Regions from separate parts of the Homo sapiens genome. Here region 2 is linked to region 1. Evidence: promoter capture Hi-C in human tissues and cell types (Jung and others, 2019). All regions are on one chromosome and are shown on one strand. Each heading gives the region's core, a stretch centred on a gene start or on the middle of the fragment in contact. The rest is flanking DNA. Distances are from core to core; before and after follow the strand shown. Region 1 holds the start of MLXIPL (MLX interacting protein like). Region 2 overlaps VPS37D (VPS37D subunit of ESCRT-I).

Region 1 (3,921 bases), core at 659-3,158:
GCTTACAGGCAGGAGCCACTGTGCCCAGCCAGAGATTTACTATTAATATTTGGGTATTTGGGAAGAAAACACAGTCCTCTCTACCCCAGCTATCTCTGACTGGGGTTACATCAGCCTTGAGTCAGCCTCTGGGTGGGGGGGCAATTTTGGGGGTGCGCTCTGTCCCTTACCTTGCCAGCTCCCCAGAACCTCTCCTCTTTGGTCACCCATCGTCAGGGTTGGAAGTGAGGCCCCCTCCCAAATAGAGTGATGTGTAGTATATAATGAGCAGCCAAAGTTGGGGTTGGGTGGGAAATGGGAGACCCTTAGGAGGAGGAGTGCCGGCATCCGGTGTACCAGGACCTTAGATGCCCTGTCCCAGGCAGTCGCGTGACATTTGGGGAGGGAGGGAGAAGGGACGGGAATTTGAACTTTCCACACGGGTCCGACGCCCTGGCCGATCGGGTTGCAACATGACCTGGGCCAGGGGCCAGAGCTTGTGGGCCAAGGTTACTCCGCCTCCAGCCAATGGGGTCGCAGCTGGGCGGCTGCGGTTGGGGGCAGGCAACACTCCCCTCACAGTCCCCACCCCAGCTCCTGCTCCCCCGCAGGGCGGCAGGTGCCGATCTGTAGCCAGCGGTTCTCAGAAGGGGAGGAGGCGCCGCGGAGGAAGAGGAATATTTGCACAGAGAAAAGATCAAGGCCGGCCGATCCCCCTTTCTCCCCTACGGGTTTTCGGTTGATAATTTATACTGGCCCCTCAACTCCGGGGAACTTTGCTCCAGGGCACTGGGCCAGGCCTCGGGTTCGCGCCCTCCTCTGGGACGCGGGGCGTGGAGCGGCAGCGGGGCGCGGCCTGTGCGCTCTCGGTGGCACTAAGCGGGGGTCCCAGGCAGCGACGGGCGCTCAGCCTAGTGTGGCGACGTGGGTAGGCGAACCCAGGCCTCCCGGGCACCGGCGTAACCTCTGCGAGCTGCGCCTCTTGGACATTTCTGGGACATCCTCCTCCCGCCACCCTTAATGTAGCAGATCAAGAAGAGGTGTCTCAGCAATTGCGGGGAGGTGGACGTGAGAGTGGGCCAGTTCCAGTCCACTTTGGTTATGAACTGGGACAATCAGGGGCGCTGGGAGTATCTCAGGGTCCAGGAATAGGGCGGGCTTGGGCCGGGGCTGCTGGGGAGAAGGCCGAGGCCTGCAGGGGGTCGGGTGGAGTGGCTCCAGAGTGGAGAGTGGGGATGGGCGCGGGTGGCCTAGGGACCAGGGGCGCCTGGCATTTTTGTAGGGACGGAGGGGCTGGGACCAGAGAGAGGGGACCAGAGGTCCAGGTAGAGGTGGGGCGCAGGCGGTCTGCGCTTCGGGGAAGAGGGAATGGGGGAGGAATGGGAATCAGAAATGCGTGGGTCCGTCAGGGGCCAGCGGGCTGGGCCGCTGTAGGAGGACCTCGGGGCTGGGAGAAAGGGGGTGTCCAGGGCGTGATCGGAGCCTCCGGGAGCCGCAGGACCGGGCTCGGGTGGGGTGTTGAGGGCCCCAGCGCGCAGTCCTGCCCCGGACCCCCCCCCCATCCCCACCTGGAAGCCAAGGCCGTCAGGGCCCGGAACCGCCCTCACCTGTAGGCCAGGCTCAAGCACTCGAAGAGGCGTGTGAGTGTGGGGTCGATACTGCGCGGCCCGAAGTCGGAGGGCCCCACGGACCCCTCCTGGTCGCGCCGCCGGGGCAGCGAGTCGCTGTGCGGCGACGACACCATGAAGTGACCGCTGTGGATGACCTGCGAGCGGAGCAAGCCGCCCGCGCTGCGCCGGAGACTCGGGTCCTCCGAGTCTGTGTCCGAGTCCGAGTCTGGGCTGGGCGCGACCCGCGGGACCTGCAAGCCCGCGGCCAGACCTGCCAGCGCGCCGGCCATGGCTGTCGCCGCCGCAACCGCCTGGTCCCTGCTCCGCGCAGCGCGGGGAACAGCTCTTGGCCAGCCGGGCCTCATTAACATAGCCCCGCCCCCACACCATAGGCCGATCGGGTGGGCGGGGCCTGGGACGGGGCGGGGCTTGTATTAGCATAATCCTTACGCCAGGTGAGAACCCGGTGCTCTGGAGCTCTGGCGGGTTGGCCCCATCTCCCTTCCCGTCTTTCCTTGGAGTCCTGATAGAGCCGCCCCTACTTTGCTCCAAAGGGATATTAAGAAAGGTCAGGCCGGACGCCAGGGGCTCTTGCCTGTAATCCTAGCACTTTAGGAGGCCAAGGCGGGAGGATGGCTTGAGGTCAGGAGTTCGAGACCAGCCTGAGCAATATGGCAAGACCCCCATCTCTACCAAAAAAATGCAAAAATTAGCCGGACATAGTGGAGAAAGCCTGTAATACCAGCTACTGGGGAGGCTGAGGTGGGAGGATTCCTTGAGCCCAGGAGTTCGACAATATGGCAAAACCCTGTCTCTACCAAACATACAAAAATTATCCAGGCATGGTGGCGTGTGCATGTAGTCCTAGCTACTCCGAAGGCTGAAGTGGGAGAATCGCTTGAGACCAAGAGGTTGAGGCTGCAGTGAGCGGAGATCGCGCCACTGCACTCCAGCCTGGATGACAGAGTGAGACCCTGTCTCCACAACAAAAGGGTCCCCTATCACACCTGAGCCTGAAAGCGCCTCAGGACCTGGGGTTTGTTCTTTCAGGGGCACCCTCCTGTGAGGCCAGAGATCACCATCTCCCCTCACCTAACTCCTGCCCTTCACCTCCAACCCCCGCCCCCCATATTAGCTCTTCTGGGTCCTCCACATAGGTAGAAGCCCCCAACTCTCAGGGGCCTGATGTGGTAAGCCCAAGGTAATGCCCCTGAAGGGCCTGGCCCACAGGAGGTTGCTAACACCTCTAGTTAACATGGTGGCCAACACGGTGGCCGGGCGCGGTGGCTCTCGCCTTCAATCCTAGCACTTTGGGAGGCCATGGTGGGTGGGTCACTTGAGGCCAGGAGTTCGAAACCAGCCTGGCTAACATGGAGAAACCCCTTCTCTACTAAAAATACAAAAATTACCGGATGTGACGATGCGTGCTTGGCTTATAATCCCAGCTACTCGGGAGGCTGAGGTGGAAGAATCACATGAGCCCAAGAGGTGGAGGTTGCAGTGAGCCGAGATCGCGCCCTACTGCACTCCACCCTGGGCAACAGTGAAATCCTGTTTCAAAAACAAAATAAAATACTTAAGAAAAAATATATATTAAAAAAATTGTGATCATTACTTCACCTGCACAGAGAGGCCCAAGGGGAGCCTCGAGGGACTGTTACTGGTAGGGATGGGTGGCTCACTGGAAGGTGGACATCCCCTAGGCAGGCATCTACCCAGGAGCTCTGAGCCCCTTCTCTCACTGACACTGAGGTCCAGCTTTTGTTCCTGCTTCTTTGTATTTTTATTTATCTATATACTTCTATTTATTTATTGTTTTGAGACGGAGGCTCACTCTGTCACCCAGGCTGGAGTGCAATGGCACGATCTCGGCTCACTGCAACCTCTGCCTCCCTGGTTCAAGCGATTCTCCTGCCTTAGCCTCCTGAGTAGCCGGGATTACAAGTGCCCGCCACCATGCCCAGCTAATTTTTGTATTTTTAGTAGAGACGAGGTTTCTCCATGCTGGCCAGGCTGGTCTCAAACTCCTGACCTTAAAGCGATTTGCCCACCTCAGCCTCTCAAAGTGCTGGGATTCCAGGCATGCGCCACCGTGCCCAGCCTATTTATATATTTTTAGAGACAGGGTCTCGCTCTGTCACCCAGGCTGGAGTGCAGAGGCACGGTCATAGCTCACTGCAGCCTCAAACTCCTGGGCCAAAGCGATCCTCCCACCTCAGCCTCCCTAGTAGCTGGGACTACAGGCTCATGCCACCAAACCTGGCTAATTTTTTTTTTTTTGTAGAGATGAAATCTGCTTCAGCCTCCCAAAGTTTTGGGATTACAAGTGTGA
Region 2 (3,921 bases), core at 1,011-3,510, 49 kb after region 1:
GCTGAGCTGGGGAGGAGGGTCCCCTGGAAGAGGCCCGAGAGGGGGCTGGGGGTGGGTGGGCAGGGCTTTATGCCTCTGGCGCTGAAGACACCCTGCCTTTTTTGTTTCCGTGCCCCGGGGCCTCTAGGGTGATGGACCAGCCCCGTTAAAGAACTTGACTCAACTACAGGGGCCTGGGAAGATGCCTGGGTCCCCTAGGGGCCTTGCCAAGGGGACCTGTCGCACCCCACCACTCCACTGGGCTCGCACAACGCCAAGGCCGCCAGGAGTGTTTTACATCATGTCCTGAGCCTACCTTTCCCCCAAATTCTGGGGCCCACAGCCTAGGAGCCAGGTGATCAGGCCTCGGCTGTGGGGCCAGGGACACCATGGCCCTGGGGCTACTACGTGTCCACACATGCTCCAGACCCTGGGGCAAGGTAGGCCAGGGGCTTCTGACCTGTGCAGGTGAGAGTGGGCCATACCCAGGAAAGACCATTCTGTATTTTTCTGTCCCTGTCTCCTTAGAATGGAAGCTTTTTGAGGGCAGGTCCTTGTCTTTGTACGTTCTGTCCCCAGCCCCGCCTCTTAGGGGCCGTCAATAAATGTGATGATGAGGATGACGATGCTGCCCGACTCCTCTCTGCTGTTGCAGCCTCCACAGCTCAGCTCCTGTGCTTCCACTTCCTACTTTTGAGATGCTCTCCCCTCCTTTCTGCCCATGCAAAGCCCAGCTGTCCGGGTCCAACACCGCCGCTGCCTCTTCCATGAAGCCTTCTCTGATTACCAACCCGTTGAGAGCCTTTCCTAAATCTTAACTTCCCGGCATTTCCAGTCAGAAGCGCTCACTGCTCCATCTTGGTTCTCCAATTGCCTCACCTGTACGCATCTTTTCCTGGGTTGCCCATAAGCCCAATCGGGATGGTACCTGGTCTTCTCTGGCCTGCCAAATGACGGTCCCCACGGAGTGATGGAGGGCATTTTGCAGGACTGATGGCATCTGTCCTCAGCCAGGGGGAATGCTAGGTGCCAGTTTGGCTGATGATTGTGGAACAAGGAGGTGGGATATACCCTGGGTCAGCTTAGGTCAAGTCCAATGAGATGCAGTTTGGCAGGGAGGCGTGGAAGTTCTTGCAAACAAAAGGGGACAGTCACAGTGTTGTGGAAGCCTACAAAGCTAATATGGTGTTGGTCCATGTTAATAAGGACATAACTATCTGGAAAGAGGAAGGTGTTGGGGTAGCTTTGCTTTTCACTTAAGTTTTTTACTGGAAGAGGGTCCCCTCCCCCCACCCGCCCCAAATGGCACCTTTGGAGAAACAAGGATGAGAAAGAACAGTCAGTGAGGAACAGTTGAGGGATCTGTTTCAAATGTGTTTGTGTGTGATGTTCAGCCTTTGAATCTCTAAAGGGTTGGGTCACCTAGAACCAGAGGTTAAAGCCAAGACCAGTGGGTGGGAACCACAGGTCAAAGCTAAGACCAATTGGTGGAAACCGTAAGGGGCCGGATTTTGGCTCCGTTTGAGGCTCTTAAATTAGGGATGAGGCCAGGAGCGGTGGCTCATGCCTGTAATCCCAGCACTTTGGGAGGCCAAGGTGGGTGGATCACCTGAGGTCAGCAGTTCAAGACCAGCCTGGCCAACATGGCGAAAACTCATCTCTACTAAAAATACAAAAATTAGCCACGCATGGTGGTAGGGACTTGTAATCCCAGCTACTCAGGAGGCTGAGGCAGGAGAATTGCTTGAACCCGGGAGGCAGAGGTTGCAGTGGGCCAAGATCACGCCACTGCACTCCAGCCTGGGCGACAAAAGTGAAACTCCGTCCCCCCACCCAAAAAAAAAGTTAGGGGTGTTCTGTGAGGTGGATGGTCCCCATCCCTGACGATGTGGGGGCAGCAACTGCTTGATGGGCTTTTTAGAGATGTCGGCTGTAGCTAGAGGGATTGGGCTGTGGGAGCTTTAGAGCCTCAGGCCTAGACAGTCAGAGTGTCCCCCTAGTACAGGCACAGTTTAAGCACTGAGAGTGCCCACTTTAGAACCTCCATCCCACCTTGGTCTTGGTTCTACTCTCTTCACTGCTGGCACTTCAGCTGCTGGAGGCCAAGGGACACCAGAACCGCTGAGTTCCTGCTGATATGACCAAAGACTGAGCAGCCTTGGAAGACCTCTCCCCCATGCTCTCCTTCTCAGCACAGTCTGGGGCAGGATGGGCCCCTCCTGCCCTGGCTTCCCATTCCTGGTCCAAGCTTCCAGGGTGCAAAGCAGTCCATTCCCACGAAAAAGTACCTTTGTCCCATTTTTCTGAAAATGCATGGTTCCCTGCTGTTTTTTGTTTTTTTTTGCTTTTTGTTTTTTTTTGAGATGGAGTTTCGCTTTTCTCACCCAGGCTGGAGTGCAATGGAGCGATCTCGGCTCACTGGAACCTCTGCCTCCCACGTTTAAGCCATTCTCCTGCCTCACACTCCCGAGTAGCTGGTATTACAGGCATGTGTCACCAAGCCCGGCTAATTTTGTATTTTTAGTAGAGACGGGGTTTCTCCATGTTGGTCAGGCTGGTCTCAAACTCCTGACCTCAGGTGATCTGCCCGCCTTGGCCTCCCAAAGTGCTGGGATTACAGGCGTGAGCCACCGCACCTGGCTTTTTTTTTTTTTTTTTTTTTTTTGAGACGGAGTCTCGCTGTGTCGCCCAGGCTGGAGTGCAGTGGCGTGATCTCGGCTCACTGCAGGCTCCACCTCCTGGGTCCATGCCATTCTCCTGCCTCAGCCTCCTGAGTAGCTGGGACTACAGGCGCCTGCCACCATGCCTGGCTAATTATAATTATTTTTGTATTTTTAGTAGAGACGGGGTTTCACCATGTTAGCCAGGATGGTCTCCATCTCCTGACCTCGTGATCCGCCCGCCTCAGCCTCCCAAAGTGCTGGGATCACAGGTGTAAGCCACAGTGCCCGGTCCCCACTTTTTTTTTTTTTTTTTTGGCTCTCCTTCATGATTGACATGGTGTAGAGTTTGCAACCAAAAGGTAAAAAGGGGCAAAGGTTGGGCAGGTCTGGACCTTTCTCCACTATCATGAATTGGGGAGCAGCCTTTAGAAGGCAGCAGCTACCAGGTTGAGCCTCCCCTCCTCAGGGTAGGTAAGAAGCAGAGAAAGTTGAGACATGGACAAGAGAGGGACTAGGAAGAAGTGTTACCATGGGAACCAGATGGGGTCCTTCAGAAGGCCTCCCACACACCTTGTCTTGCACAGAGCTGATTCTTCTTTAGAGGGGCAGGGAGTGAGACCCCTCTGTGTTCAGCTCCAGCCTGAAAATGATCGGAGGCAGGTGAGGATGGACACCACCAGAGTGGAGTGGGCCCAGTTCTGGGTGGGCCATGGAAAGGCTTACAGTTGGATGGTTTGAAAAATCATTAACCCCTTTTGCTTGAAGGTACATGGAATGTTCAGGAAGGTTCTGGAATGTTCTGGAAGGTGCAGCACTCTGGGCCCTTCCTTTTGCCTAAAACCTTCTTGAACTTGCTGCTTCTAGATTCAGGGGGCCCCAGGAATGTTCCTGGCTGTGATCTGTGAGAGAAAACAAACTTGAGGGTCTGCATCAGGGGGCTCATGAAAAAGGTCCTACCTATTAGATACCATTTTGCTTTTACAAAACAAAACCAAAGAAGTCTCCAAATAAAACTCCCACCCCTTTTAATAAAAACAGAGCTCCCTGTTCCTCAAGAAAGTCTATTATGTACACCTCCTTGTTTGTGAATCACTAGCTTCTGCATTTTTCTAACCTTCCCCATCTTGGTTTCCAAATATGAAACATAGTAACATTAAATTGCTTTTTCTTTTTCCTAACCAATCAAGGCTCACTGAGCTAAGCAGGCTCCAACCAGTGTGGGCTCAAACCTTCACCACTGAATCGTGTAGTCCCTGCAAAGCCATGGCTAAGAACTTGC

What was found. Contacts are between HindIII fragments. The study calls those that stand out against the background at their distance.
Region 2: a fragment that was not itself captured here is called in contact with the fragment with the promoter of MLXIPL in region 1 in 1 of the 25 tissues and cell types used here (dorsolateral prefrontal cortex).

The regions. Positions count from the first base shown.
Region 1 is chr7:73,622,614-73,626,534 of GRCh38, forward strand. It overlaps MLXIPL (MLX interacting protein like), which reads right to left and starts at 1,909. Exons shown (of 17, transcript NM_032951.3): 1 at 1,587-1,909. The coding sequence starts at 1,879. The HindIII fragment of the contact is 21,137 bases long and covers 1-3,921 here.
Region 2 is chr7:73,671,509-73,675,429 of GRCh38, forward strand. It overlaps VPS37D (VPS37D subunit of ESCRT-I), which reads left to right. Exons shown (of 4, transcript NM_001077621.2): 4 at 1-602. Among named protein-coding and RNA genes, the nearest start is that of VPS37D, 5.6 kb to the left of the region's middle. The HindIII fragment of the contact is 1,779 bases long and covers 1,372-3,150 here.